3 separate regions of the Homo sapiens genome follow, and regions 1 and 3 are each linked to region 2. Evidence: promoter capture Hi-C in 16 types of primary human blood cells and fetal thymus (Javierre and others, 2016). All regions are on one chromosome and are shown on one strand. The core of a region is centred on a gene start or on the middle of the fragment in contact, and the rest is flanking DNA. Distances in the headings are between cores, read along the strand shown. Region 1 has its middle 18 kb from the start of CD300E. Region 2 holds the start of NAT9 (N-acetyltransferase 9). Region 3 has its middle 3.4 kb from the start of CD300H.

The links. The method cuts DNA at HindIII sites, captures the fragments that hold promoters and counts their contacts. A CHiCAGO score of 5 or more calls a contact.
Region 1: a fragment that was not itself captured here is called in contact with the fragment with the promoter of NAT9 in region 2 in 5 of 17 cell types (naive B cells, monocytes, total B cells and 2 more); the score reaches 7.7 in naive B cells.
Region 3: a contact is called between a fragment that was not itself captured here and the fragment with the promoter of NAT9 in region 2, in 2 of 17 cell types (M1 macrophages and monocytes). The highest score is 6.8, in M1 macrophages.

What each region holds. Positions count from the first base shown.
Region 1 is chr17:74,639,949-74,643,826 of GRCh38, forward strand. No RefSeq gene overlaps it. Among named protein-coding and RNA genes, the nearest start is that of CD300E, 18 kb to the left of the region's middle. The HindIII fragment of the contact is 7,428 bases long and covers 1-3,878 here.
Region 2 is chr17:74,774,580-74,778,615 of GRCh38, forward strand. NAT9 (N-acetyltransferase 9) reads right to left here and starts at 1,766. Exons shown (of 7, transcript NM_015654.5): 1 at 1,688-1,766; 2 at 1,043-1,128. The coding sequence starts at 1,119. It overlaps SLC38A12 (solute carrier family 38 member 12), which reads left to right and starts at 1,920. Exons shown (of 10, transcript NM_017728.4): 1 at 1,920-1,998; 2 at 2,685-2,796. The coding sequence starts at 2,752. RefSeq lists an enhancer at 1,448-1,567. The HindIII fragment of the contact is 5,812 bases long and covers 1-4,036 here.
Region 3 is chr17:74,568,892-74,573,019 of GRCh38, forward strand. No RefSeq gene overlaps it. Among named protein-coding and RNA genes, the nearest start is that of CD300H, 3.4 kb to the left of the region's middle. RefSeq lists enhancers at 1-695, 696-1,425. The HindIII fragment of the contact is 3,432 bases long and covers 796-4,128 here.

The sequences.
Region 1 (3,878 bases), core at 545-3,044, 130 kb before region 2:
GTTAGAAGCACCTATGCAGAGGGACAAAAGCCCCAAAGTGAGCGACTGCTGGGCTTCGAGCCCCAGTGCCCCCCACCTCACCACGCCCATGACTCCTGCATCTTCCTCCGAGACCCACCCTGCACAGCTGACTCACTTGCCTTCGTCTGTGCAAATAACTTCCCCATGGGTCTCCTTTTTCATTTGCTTCTCTCCCCTTTATTTCAGGCTACTAAGGGATGCAACGTTGACGGTGCTAAGCAGAGCCTAGAATAGGAGAGAGGGCTCTCCAGAAAAGACCTGGAACATTAGAGATGAGCAATGCCACTGTTAGGAGCCCATGGGTCCCGCCCTAAGCCTCCGAGGCCTCTCCTTCACCTTCATATCCACACCAGACAGGGCTGGTGAGCGAATTCTGGAGGATTCAAGGCGAGAGAGAGTCCCCTGTGTTCTTAACTTCGGGGAGCTGAGGTCACAGATACACTTGAGATTGTAACAAAAGCTATACACCCATGCCCTAGGAAAACACACACATACACTGAGTTTCGCATATCCTATTAAAAGAATCTCCAGAGTCTTTCTATGTATTCCTAGCTAGGACCCCCCACCCTGGCAGGGCGCGGTGGCTCACACCTGTAATCCCAGCACTTTGGGAGGCCAAGGCGGGTGGATCACATGAGGCCAAGAGTTGGAGACCAGCCTGGTCAACATGGTGAAACCCTGTCTCTACTAAAAATACAAAAGTTAGCTGGGCATTGGTGGTGGGTACCTGTAATCCCAGCTACTTGGGAGGCTGAGGCAGGAGAATCCCTTGAACCCGAGAGGAGGAAGTTGCAGTGAGCCAAGATCGTGCCATTGCACTCCAGCCTGGGTGACAAGAGCAAAACTCCAACTCAAAAAAAAGAAAAAGAAAAAAGAAACAGATGAGAGAGATATGACTCTGATGCTAGAACAGAGGAGGAGCCTGCAGAAGGTGTGCAAGCACACATGTGCGCACGTGCACACACATACCAGCTGTCAGACACAGTCTGTGCTCTTTGGGAAGGAGGGTGGGGGTTACAGGACACTCCCATGTGACAAAACAGCAATCATCCCATGTCCCCTGGGTGCATAAAAACATCTCTCTTTGCACACCAGCACACAGCCACATCTTCCTTGCTGGGGTTCTTTGTGACCACTGTGAAAAAGCATTTGCCAGGGCTGTCTTGATGGTACACGGCGCTCCTCTCCTGACCTCAGGTGGTCCACCCACCTCAGCCTCCCAAAGCTCTGGGATTACAGGCGTGAGCCACCGCACCTGACCCAGACCCTGCATTCCTTTCCCCACTGGGCTTCTCTAATGTTCAGAACAACTCAAATCCATTTGTGCATTCTGCTGCCGCATATGGAGGCCCTGCTAAGTGTGAGTCCTACTTTGTGTTTGCAGCTGCAGACCTCATGCTGAGCAAGACTTCGCCTGGCCCTGGAGGGGCTCCCCACTACACCCTGGGTTGCCTCTGTGCCCTCTGGACTACCAGGCCTGGCTTAGTCGCTTTCCTTGGGCCTCTGTTTGTTATCAGCAGAGCCCACCCATCTGAGGCTGGAGCCTGAAACTCTAGTCATCCCTCTGATTCCCTCATCCTCTCCCCAGTGCACCCCAGCCCCACCCACCTCCCCTTCCCCAGCCACTAGGCCTGCTGTTCCTCATGCTCCCACCAGCCTCCCCCACCCCACTCCCCGGACCCAGGATGTCCAGGAGGGGCAGATGTGTCACTGTGTCTCTTTGCTCTCTCTGCCTCATCTGCCAACATTTGGGGAGCTTCTGTCAGCTGGACTGAAACTGGCTTTCATGTTTCTTACTACTCCCTTGCGTCTCTCTTTTCTACACCTCAGTTTTGTTGTTTTCCCATTGCATCAATGTTTATACGTAGAGCTGTTCAGAAAAAGCAGAAGCTGGAGACAGGAAAACTACTAATCACAACAGAAACTTTGTGGCTTTAATTCTCATAATAATTAGCATCACAGGGCACCCACCCAGTTTCTCAAGAGCCTACAACTTCCAAAAACAGACAAGTTAAGTCACATTTTTATGTATCATTGTGTCTTCAAATATACTAATCCAGCAGATTTATCTGACATCAAAACAGGGAGTTGGATGTTCAGAGGGCAAATCTTACCCAAAAATTGCTGACACAGCCCCTAACATGTTACATTATTATTAATTGGACAGTCACTTAATGAGCGTCTACTAAGTAAAGGCGCTGTGTATACAAAGAAGAAGGAGAGATCATGATTCTGTCAGGATCCTGGGAGTGGGCCAATGGCAGGCTCAGTTGGTATAACAGAATAATCTAATGCAGGGGAAATTTACAAAGAGAAGGAAAGAGTTAAGTGAAATCAACAAGAGATGGAGAAAAAACAGGACTAGCAACAGCAGTAGGGCCACGACACCTCTAACACAGGGAGAGGTGTCAGAAATAACCAGAACCCACAGGAACTGTAGGACAGGACCATGCCACAGGGGCTGTGACCTCAAAGTAGGAAAACGGACACTCCAGCCCAGCAGGGTGGCACCTGGGCAGGAGAAACTCTCACCTTCCTTTCTCCTGCTGGCACCACCCATTGCCATTCCTTGGAAAGAAAATAAATCTTGGGACCCCAAACTCACTAAGCCAAAGGAAAAAGTCAAGCAGGGAACTGGGTCATGCAAACCTACCTCCCATGTTGGTTCCTAAATGAGATGGTGACAAGGATGACAGGCTACCAACCTCCCTCACATTGTGGTCTTTAAAGCGTTTCTGTTAAATTTCCCCATGCCAATGTAAACTGATAGCTTATCTTCACAGGTGCGAGACACAGGACAGAACTCAAAGTCATTCCTCTGCCCACCTGAGACAAACGCATATCTGACTGTTTCCTCTGCCCTGTTGTTTACGTTATCTTAGGTAAAAATGCAGATTCACTGAGCCAGACAAAGGCCTGAATGGCTATTTTCCCCACCTCCCCTCTCACAAGAAAATTGTGTATTTCTCAATATCCCACCCTTTCCCTTTTAAATATTGAAGCCCCCAAAATCATCTTCAGAGAAAGGTATAGACCTGTCTCCCAGGCGCGTTTCCTTAACTTTGGCAAATAAACTTCCTAAAATGATTGAGACTTGCCTCAGTCATTTTCCTCCATTGACAACCTGAGCCCAACCAGAAGCCAGAGTGAGGTTATCTATGTTCCCCTCTCCAATAAGAATAGAAACCCCCACTCCAGAGCAGGTGCGGTGTCTGACTCATCTTCATATCCCAGCAGTAAGTACAGTGACCAGCTCACCGCGGGTGCTCAGTAAATGCATGCTGTGTGAAGAGATGAATGAGTGAATGTCCGTCCACTCAGCAACCTTGCAGCCAGGTGTGGTTGCTCATGTCTGTAATCCTAACATTTTGGGAGGCCAAGGCGAGTGGATCACTTGAGACCAGGAGTTTGAGACCAACCTGGCCAATATGGTGAAACCCTGTCTCTACTAAAAACCCAAAAATTAGCCAGGTGTGGTGGTGCGTGCCTGTAATCCCAGCTACTCAGGAGGCTTGAACCCAGGAGATGGAGGTTGCAGTGAGCCAAGATTGCGCCACTCTACTCCAACCTGGGTGACAGAGCAAGACTCTGTCTCCAAAAAAAAAGAAAAAGAAAGAAGAAAGAAAGAAAGAAAGAAAGAAAGAAAGAAAGAAAGAAAGAAAGAAGAAAGAAAGAAAGAAAGAAGAAAGAAAGAAAGAAAGATTCTTACAAACTATAAGATACTAAATTATCTAAAATTATTTCAAAATAAAGAAGGAGGTTTTGATGCTATATGCAGGTAAGAAAGGTTGGAATTAATCTCTGGAATAACACACATGATTTTCTCAATTCCTGTACTAAGCACATATGCATGGCTC
Region 2 (4,036 bases), core at 516-3,015:
TCGATCTGTCACCCAGGCTGGAGTGCAGTGGCGCGATCTCGGCTCACTGTAAGCTCCGCCTCCCGGGTTCACACATTCTCCTGCCTCAGCCTCCCGAGTAGCTGGGACTACAGGCGCCCGCCACCACATCCGGCTAATTTTTTTGTATTTTTAGTAGAGACGGGGTTTCACCATGTTAGCCAGGATGGTCTCGCTCTCCTGAGCTTGTGATCCGCCTGCCTCGGTCTCCCAAAGTGCTGGGATTACAGGCGTGAGCCACTGCGCCCAGCCTTTATTTTATTTTATTTTATTTTTGAGACAAAGTCTCACTCTGTTGCCCAGGCTGGAGTACAGTGGTGTGATCTCGGCTCACCACAACCTCCACCTCCCTGGTTCAAGTGATTCTCCTGCCTCAGCCTCCCAAGTAGCTGGAATTACAGGTGCCGGGCAACAAGCCCAGCTAATTTTTTGTGTTTTTAGTAGAGATGGCGTTTTATCATGTTGGCCAGGCTGGTCTTGAACTACTGACCTCATGATCCACCCGCCTCAGCCTCCCAAAGTGCTGGGATTACAGGCGTGAGCCACCGCACCCGGCCGTTTTTTTGTTTTTGTTTGTTTTTGTTTTTTTGTTTTTTTTGTTTTTTTTTGAGACAGGTTCTTGCTCTGTCACCCAGGCTGGAGTACAGTGGTACAATCACAGCTCACAGCAGTCTTCATCTCCTGGGCTCAGGCAATCCTCCCACCTCAGCCTCCCTAGTAGCTGGGACTGCAGCTGTGCACCACCATGCCTGGCTAATTTTTGTATTTTTTTGTAGAGACAAGGTCTCGCTACGTTACCCAAGCTGGTCTCGAACTGCTGGGCTCAAGCAATCCTCCTGCCACAGCCTCCCAAAGTCCTGGAATTACAGGCGTGAGCCACGGCACCCAGCCTTTTTTCCCCCCTCATATATAATTATTTCTCACAACCAATGTTTCTTCTTAGGGGAAATAGCCCTGAGACTGGGGCTGTACCTTACACAGCTCTGGGTGCTGATACGCACCCCATGTCAAGCGGGAAAGATACCTGGGCACATGCTCCGAGGTGTAGGGTACAAGGACCACCTTCTTCCCCAGCAGCAAGGTGTTCTGATTCAACCTCATGGTAGCAGCCTGCATGCAGATGGGGAGAGCAAAGACTTCAGGACCCTGAATTTCCTCCAACTTTGGGTAGGCGCTCCAGCTTTCCTGCTGGGGCTAAGTTGACTTCCGTCATTAGTTCCGTCTAGACACTTCAAAGAATACAGACTCCAAAATTCTTGCAAGAAAGAGAACCAGGCTGGTTAAGGATAATTAAACAATCCTTGACTCCCACTCCAAGAGGCCAAGCCTGGGCTCCGTTTCTGCCGGTTCCTTCCGTCCACTCCCCAGAACTTCGATTCCTCAAACCCAAGCACCAAGTACCAAGTACCAAAGTATCCCCAGAGCTCCCATTACTTGCCCCAGTCCAGGGATTCCAACCCAGAATCAACTTTCAGCCCTGCCTTAAACCTACTTCCAACCTCTTACCCCGGCGACCACCCCACGGGGCTCTAGCCACTCCCTCCCCGCCCCCGACCACTTCAGGGCAAGGCGGGCTTAGTCTTAGGCCCTCCCCTTTGAGTGGCGTTCTAGACCACTCTCTTCGACCCTCCAACCACGCGGACCCGGGTACTGCCAAGCTCACACCCACCTACCACCGACGAAATCGTCCCCCGCAGAAAGGGTGATCTACCTCCTCCAACCAGCCACGTTCCCAGGCCCGGCCGGCTACCGCCCCTTCCGCATGCGCGTGAGAACGCGCCCCGCCCACTTCCGCCATGCTGACGGCAGCCGCCAGGCCCCAATCCCGGTCCCGCCCCCGCGAGGCGCCCAATCAGCGCGCGCGAAAAAGGTGGGCTGTGGGGCCGGCGCATGCGCGCTGCGGAAGCTGGTGCTGGACAGCTGGCGCCGGCAGCAGCGGACCGGCGGGAGACGGCGGCTTGGGAGCTGGCTGTGCTGCAGGTGTTGGGTCGGGTCGGGTCGGGACGGGCGGGAGAGGACGAGACGGGTCGGGATAGGTTGGGGCGGGGCGGGGCGGCACTAGACTCGGGACTCCTCCAGGAGGGAGAGAGAGGGAGAGGCTGGGAGTGGGGTTCTTGAGAAAAGAGGGAGCTTTGAGGGTGGGGAACCCTAAGAGAGTAGGTGGGGCCAGGGAGTGGAGGCCCCATTAAAAAAAGGAGGCCTTAGTGCCAAGAGTGGAGTTGGAAGGGCAATGTAGGAAAGCCCCCAGCTCCCTGCCCTAGGCAGAGGCGGCAGACAGTTCCTTGGGCTCCCATGTGTGGTAGTGAGCTCCTGGTTCCTGGAACTAAACGAGGATAACCACCCCAGAGCGTGGAAAGGGGGCTCTTGTGGTGGGTGAGACTTAGTGGTTTTAGAGGCCCCTTAAATCACTTGCACCCCGAGCAGCATTGAAAACATCCGTGCTGGGCACAGAGCAGTGCCCTGCACAGCAAGGGAAATGTTAGAAGAAACCGTCCAGATTTCTGTCATCCAGGGTGACCCCTCCCTCGGGGGTGAGTCTTGTGACAGATACTGAGGCCCTAAGTGTCTGTGATAAAAGAACCAGAGGTGGCAGGGGAAGTCTGCAAGCCTCCTCCCACCCCTGTCTCAGTCCATCAGATAGGTGAAGCCTGCTCTTTTGTTTTAAGGAGCTGCGGCAGCCGCCGTCCTTGCACCTAAGGAACCTCTGCTGCCAGCCCTTCCTCACTTTTGGAAATGGCGGGTGAAATTACAGAGACCGGGGAACTCTACTCTTCCTACGTGAGTGTGACTTATAGAACCTTTTGCTCACTTAAGTGTTCCTGGCTTCTAGAAAAGCACATTGCTTGCTGGAGATGGGACTAGTGAGTGCTGCTGCTTGAGCAGACCATAGTGGAAGCAGGATGGGGGAGTTCCATGGGGCAGCGACTACAGTGCTGCTGTGGTGGCTCAGAATGTAAGTCAGATTTATTCTCTTTTTAAGGTGTTTGTCAGAGTGGTCAAGCCAAACAAAATCGCCATGCTGTTTATAATGTTAATCCCGGGCTGGGCACGGTGGCTCACGCCTGTAATCCCAGCACTTTGGGAGGCTGAAGCGGGCAGATCACCTGAGGTCAGGAGTTCAAGACCAGCCTGGCCAACATGGTAAAACCCTGTCTCTACTAAAAATACAAAATTAGCCGGGCATGGTGGCACTGTAATCCCAGCTACTCGGGAGGCTGAGGCAGGAGAATCGCTTGAACCCGGGAGGCGGACGTTGCAGTGAGCTGAGATCGAGCCGTTGCACTCCAGCCTGGGCAAAAAGAGCGAAACTCTGTCTCAAAAATAAAGAAATAATGTTCATCTCCAGGCTACCACACTTGCCTGCAGTGCTGCCCTTCAGATGAACAGTGATTGACAGCTGTTGACTCTGGGTTTTGCTCATCTCAGCAGTTGGAAACCGCTTTGGTCTTTACTGAATTTTAAATTGCACAACTTTTATAGTCTTGGATGGCGTAAGAAGCAGCGAAAGCATACAGAGACTTCTAATTACAGTTTGGTGGACTCTGCAATTAGAACAATTAGAATGATTGATTCTCACTGTCTTAGGTCTGTGTTACCTCTGGCTGCCCCCAACACACACGCAGTTTATCTTCTCTATGTAACGTATGATTGGTCATAGTTGTTACATCACAGGGCCCTCTTGCCTGGATAAGTAGCCAGAGGGTTGGAATAATCAGATGGTTGACTCAGGTTGCTACCAACCCTCCCAGGCAAAAGCAGCACTGCCCTAAGTAGCAAGAGTTTTCTAGAACTTGACCTGCCTTCAACAGCTGCCCTGCCTTGTACATAGCTTCCTAGCCTGGGGATCTCTGGTCTGTTTCTGCTAGCTTCACAGACTAGCATTGTGGTGTGATGGACAAGGAAGTGTCTCCAAGACATTTCCTTCACAGCTGGAAGAAAGCCTTCCTGATTCCAGAGTCTTCCTATTGGGCCTGTGCCATTCATGTGTGGCAATAAAGGAGCCTTCTTCACCCATCAC
Region 3 (4,128 bases), core at 1,262-3,761, 200 kb before region 2:
TGTGTGATGTGAGTGGTGTGTATGAGATGAGATGTGTGTAGTGTGTATGTGTGTACGTGTGTGTGGTGTGTTGGGTGGTGTGTGTAGTGTGTATATGTGTGCATGTGTGGGAGTGTATGTGGTGTGTGCGTGTCCATGTGTGGTGTACGTGTGTGGTATGTGGGGTGGTGTGTGGTGTATGTGTGTGGTATGTGGGGTGATGTGTGTAGTGTATGTATGTGTGTGCATGTGTGGGCGTGGAGGGTGTGGGTGGTGTGTGTGTACATGTGGTGTATGTGTGTGGTGTGTGTATGTGTGTGCATGTGTGGGGGGTGTGGGTGGTGTGTGTCTACATGTGGCGTATGTGTGTGGTGTGTGGGGTGGTGTGTGCATGTGTGGGCGTGGGGAGGTGTATGGGTGTGTGTGTGTGTACATGTGGTGTATATGTGTGGTGTGTGGGTTGGTGCGTGCATGTGTGTGGAGGGGAAGCAGGAGCTGGGAGTGATAAAGATGTCTCCCCTTGCAGCCTGCAGAGCCGGTTGCGAGCCCCGCCCTCTGTGCCTAGCTCTGGGCGCTAAGGAAAGGCTTGCCTGGCCCTCCCTGACTCTGCGTCAAGGGCTGCTCAACGTGCCTTTCTTGGGAAGAAGGGATCTGAGTCTGTGAAGGAGATGACGCACAGCTGCAGACTTTTCCAGAAAACATTCTCGCCATCCTTGTCTGGACAAACCACCGGGTGCACAGGGTTGTATTAGTCAGCTCTTTCTGGCTCACATTGCCATAGCAAAACTCCTAATCCCAGCATGCTGTAACCACAGAAGCTTGTTTCTCGCTCGTCTATACGCAAGCGGTGAGTCAGCATTGCTTGGGCACCAGGCTGCGGAGCCCAGTCCGCTAGAGGAGAGGGAAGGCACCGGGTGGCTCTCTGAGCCTCTGCTCAGAAGGCGCACATGCGGCTCCTGCTCACCGTTCATCGTCATAGGGTCAAGCCTGAAGTCAGTGGGAAGGAGAAGCACAGTCCTCTTACAGGACAAGGCGGCAAGTCACTGACCACAACCACAGAACCCACTACTGGAGGTTCCCTAACCGGGCTGGAAGGGTGCCCCGCAGCACACCGACTCCGTGCTTCTCGCTCATCCAAGGTCGGGGCAGGGAGAGGCTGCAGGGTCTGCTTAGAAACAGCCTGTGTGTGTTTCATTTTTTTAGCTAGGACCAGACAGTTTGCCAAATGCAAAGGACATGGCAATGCCACAGGGAACCCACCTTTGAAGCAGATGTACTCTGGGCCCTGGAGTCCCCCAGGAGATGACAAATTCCTTGAAGAGATGACCCACATCTGGGACATCCAGGCTTTTTCCATGTCAAGGCCAGCATCTGGAGCCGCTGTCCCTTCCCCAGCAGGCCCTTGTCCTTCTGTCTCTGAAACCTGTCCTGGAAAATGCTGTCCGCTCCAGGAGGGCAGAGCTAGGGGAGGACTGAGAATAATGAACACTGGCCATGAGGCACAGGAGGGCGGGGAGCCCGGGGCCCTGCCTGGCACTGCACCACACTGAGACCCCCACCATCGCTGCCCTTGAGGGACAGCTCTTGGGGCTTCCAGAAAGTTAAGATCTCATCAGTGAGGGGTGCGTTCTTAGGGCAAACTCGGGGCATGTGATGTGTAGGACAGTGTGAGTAGCCCACACATTTCTCTCTGCCTTTCGGGGCTGTGCTTGTCTTTCTGCTTCCTCGAAAACCGTCATCCTCCCTTCTCACTCTCCCAGGATGAGCTCAGACCACACCTCTCCTGGAAGGCATCCCTGCCTGCTCCAGGCCTTCCAGACCCCTCCCTCTGGGGTTCCTGTTACCTGCAATGCTTATTTCTGTATTTAATCTCATGTCCCTGTGCTGTCATTGTCCTGTTGCATGGCATCCATTTCCAGGTGAGGCTGTAGCCTCCACAAAGGCAGGACCAATCTGGGCACCCGGAGACGCAGACAGAGCTCGGCCCCAGCCTTGTGAGCTGAATTGGAGGGTGAGAGCTCCGATCCTTCCATATTTTCCAGGGGAGGGGATCAGGAATGTATTAAGGCATTGGGCCTCTCTTCTCTCACCTCTACTACCCGACGTCAATCCATTTGGGGAGTAGTTCTCAGTATCTTGTGCATCATGGTGAGAATGGGCAAGTGCCCAAGGATGGTGGACCCCACTGCCCACTTTCTTCCCTCCCCACTGGCACTCAAGGGAGACGTCACCAAGAGGGCAGCCTCCTGACCGGCTCTGGGCAATGGATGCCTCTTTGGGATCTTGTTACAAATACAGGGCTCTCTAGGGAGCAGGGTGTGGGGAGGGTCTTCCCAACATGGGGGCTGGGGTGCTATAGGGAGCCCGGCTCAGAGAGGGTCTCTACCTGACTCTGATGATGTGGGCCATGTAGCACAGTGAGGAAGGTTCTGGCCATAAGCTGGGAGCCCTGGCTCAGATTTTAAGGTCTGCTGTTCACTAGTTATATGACTTTAGGCAAATCAGCAAAAGTCTCTTAGCATCAGTCTCCTCATCTGTGAAATAGGAATAAAAATATTCACCCTGCTCAGTCCCAGGAGTTGAGCAAAGGCATTTGAAGGTGGTGGCATCCCTCTGGGAAACTTTCCTCTTTTGATCTTCTACGTACCATGCACTCTGTATATTTAAATCCTGCATACCCATCCCAACACCCCTGCCAGGTCACTTTTAAATAAGATGACTGGAGCTGGAAAGACGAACTAAACTGTCATGATGGGAAGTGGGGAGGTCAGGATTTGAACCCAGGTCTTCGGTGGGGTCCCACCTCTGGCTCTCATGATGCAAGGTACGGATTGCAACACTCAGGCAGGGGTGAGATGGGTTGAGAGATGGCAAGTGGAAGAGGCCTCCAAGTCTTATTTCATTCAATATCTGTTTGCAGAATAGCAGGAAGTATCTTCAGGGGAAATTAACAACACAACAAAGTCTGCTTCTGGGTGTCTGCTATGGATTGATGAGTTCCCCCAAAAATTCATATGTGGAAGCCCTAACCCGTAATGTGGTGATATTAGGAAATGAGCCTGTGGGAGGTAATTAGGGTTAGATGAGGTCATGAGGATCAGGCCTTCATTGTGGGATTAGTGCCCTTATCAGAAGAAGAAGAGAGATCTCACTTTCTTTCTTAGTCCATTTAGGCTGCTATTTTAAAATACCATAGACTGGGTGGGTTATGAACAACAGAAATGCATTACTCACAGTTGTGGAGGCTGGAAAGTCCAAGATCAAAGTGCTAGCAGATTCAGTGTCTGTTGCGCACTCACCTTCTGGTTCATAAAGAGTACTTTTTTTTGCTGTGTCTTCACATGGTGGAAGGGGCAAGACAGCTCTCTGGGGTCTCTTTTACAAGGGTACTAATCCTGTTCATAAGGGTTACACCCCCACAACTGAATTATCCCCAAGGATCCACCTCCTAATACCAACACACTGGGAATAAGTTTCAACACATGAATTCTGGAGAAACACAAACACTCAGACCATAGCACTCTCTCTGCCATACGAGGATACAGAAAGATGGCAGCCATCTGCAAGTCAAGAAGAGAGTCCTCACCAAACACCAAATCTACCAACATCTTGATCTTGACTTCCCAGCCTTCAGAACTATAATAAATAAAGGTCCCTTGTTTATAAACCACTCGGTTTATGGTATTTTGTTACAGCAGCCTGAGCTGACTGAGACAACGTCCTGGTGTCTGTCCCAATGCTTCACCGTTCTGGCTTTTCAGCATGAGTCACCTGTGCTCCTTCTCCCTGGAGGAGCCCTGTCTGGGGCAAGACCTTTGCAGAAACAGTGAGGCTTCTTGTCACTTTCCTCATTTGGAAATCAGGGATTTGGATGACAACTGGATTCCACCAACTGAGGTGTCTCTGAGGCCATTTGAAAGGCCCAGTTAGACAGAGGTTATCTTCCACAGCTCTTAGCCACTGCTGTTGGCAAACAAGGATTAGAAGAAACAGGAGACTTTCATGAAGCAGAGTTCCAGGATATGTTTTCTAGCTTCCTGGGTGACAAGAAGCAGTGAGGGCAGTGACAACTTCTTCATCTGACTTCCATTAGGAAGATTCCTTGGATTGCAGCTTCATAAAATTATTCTCTAGCTTCCTGGATGTGGA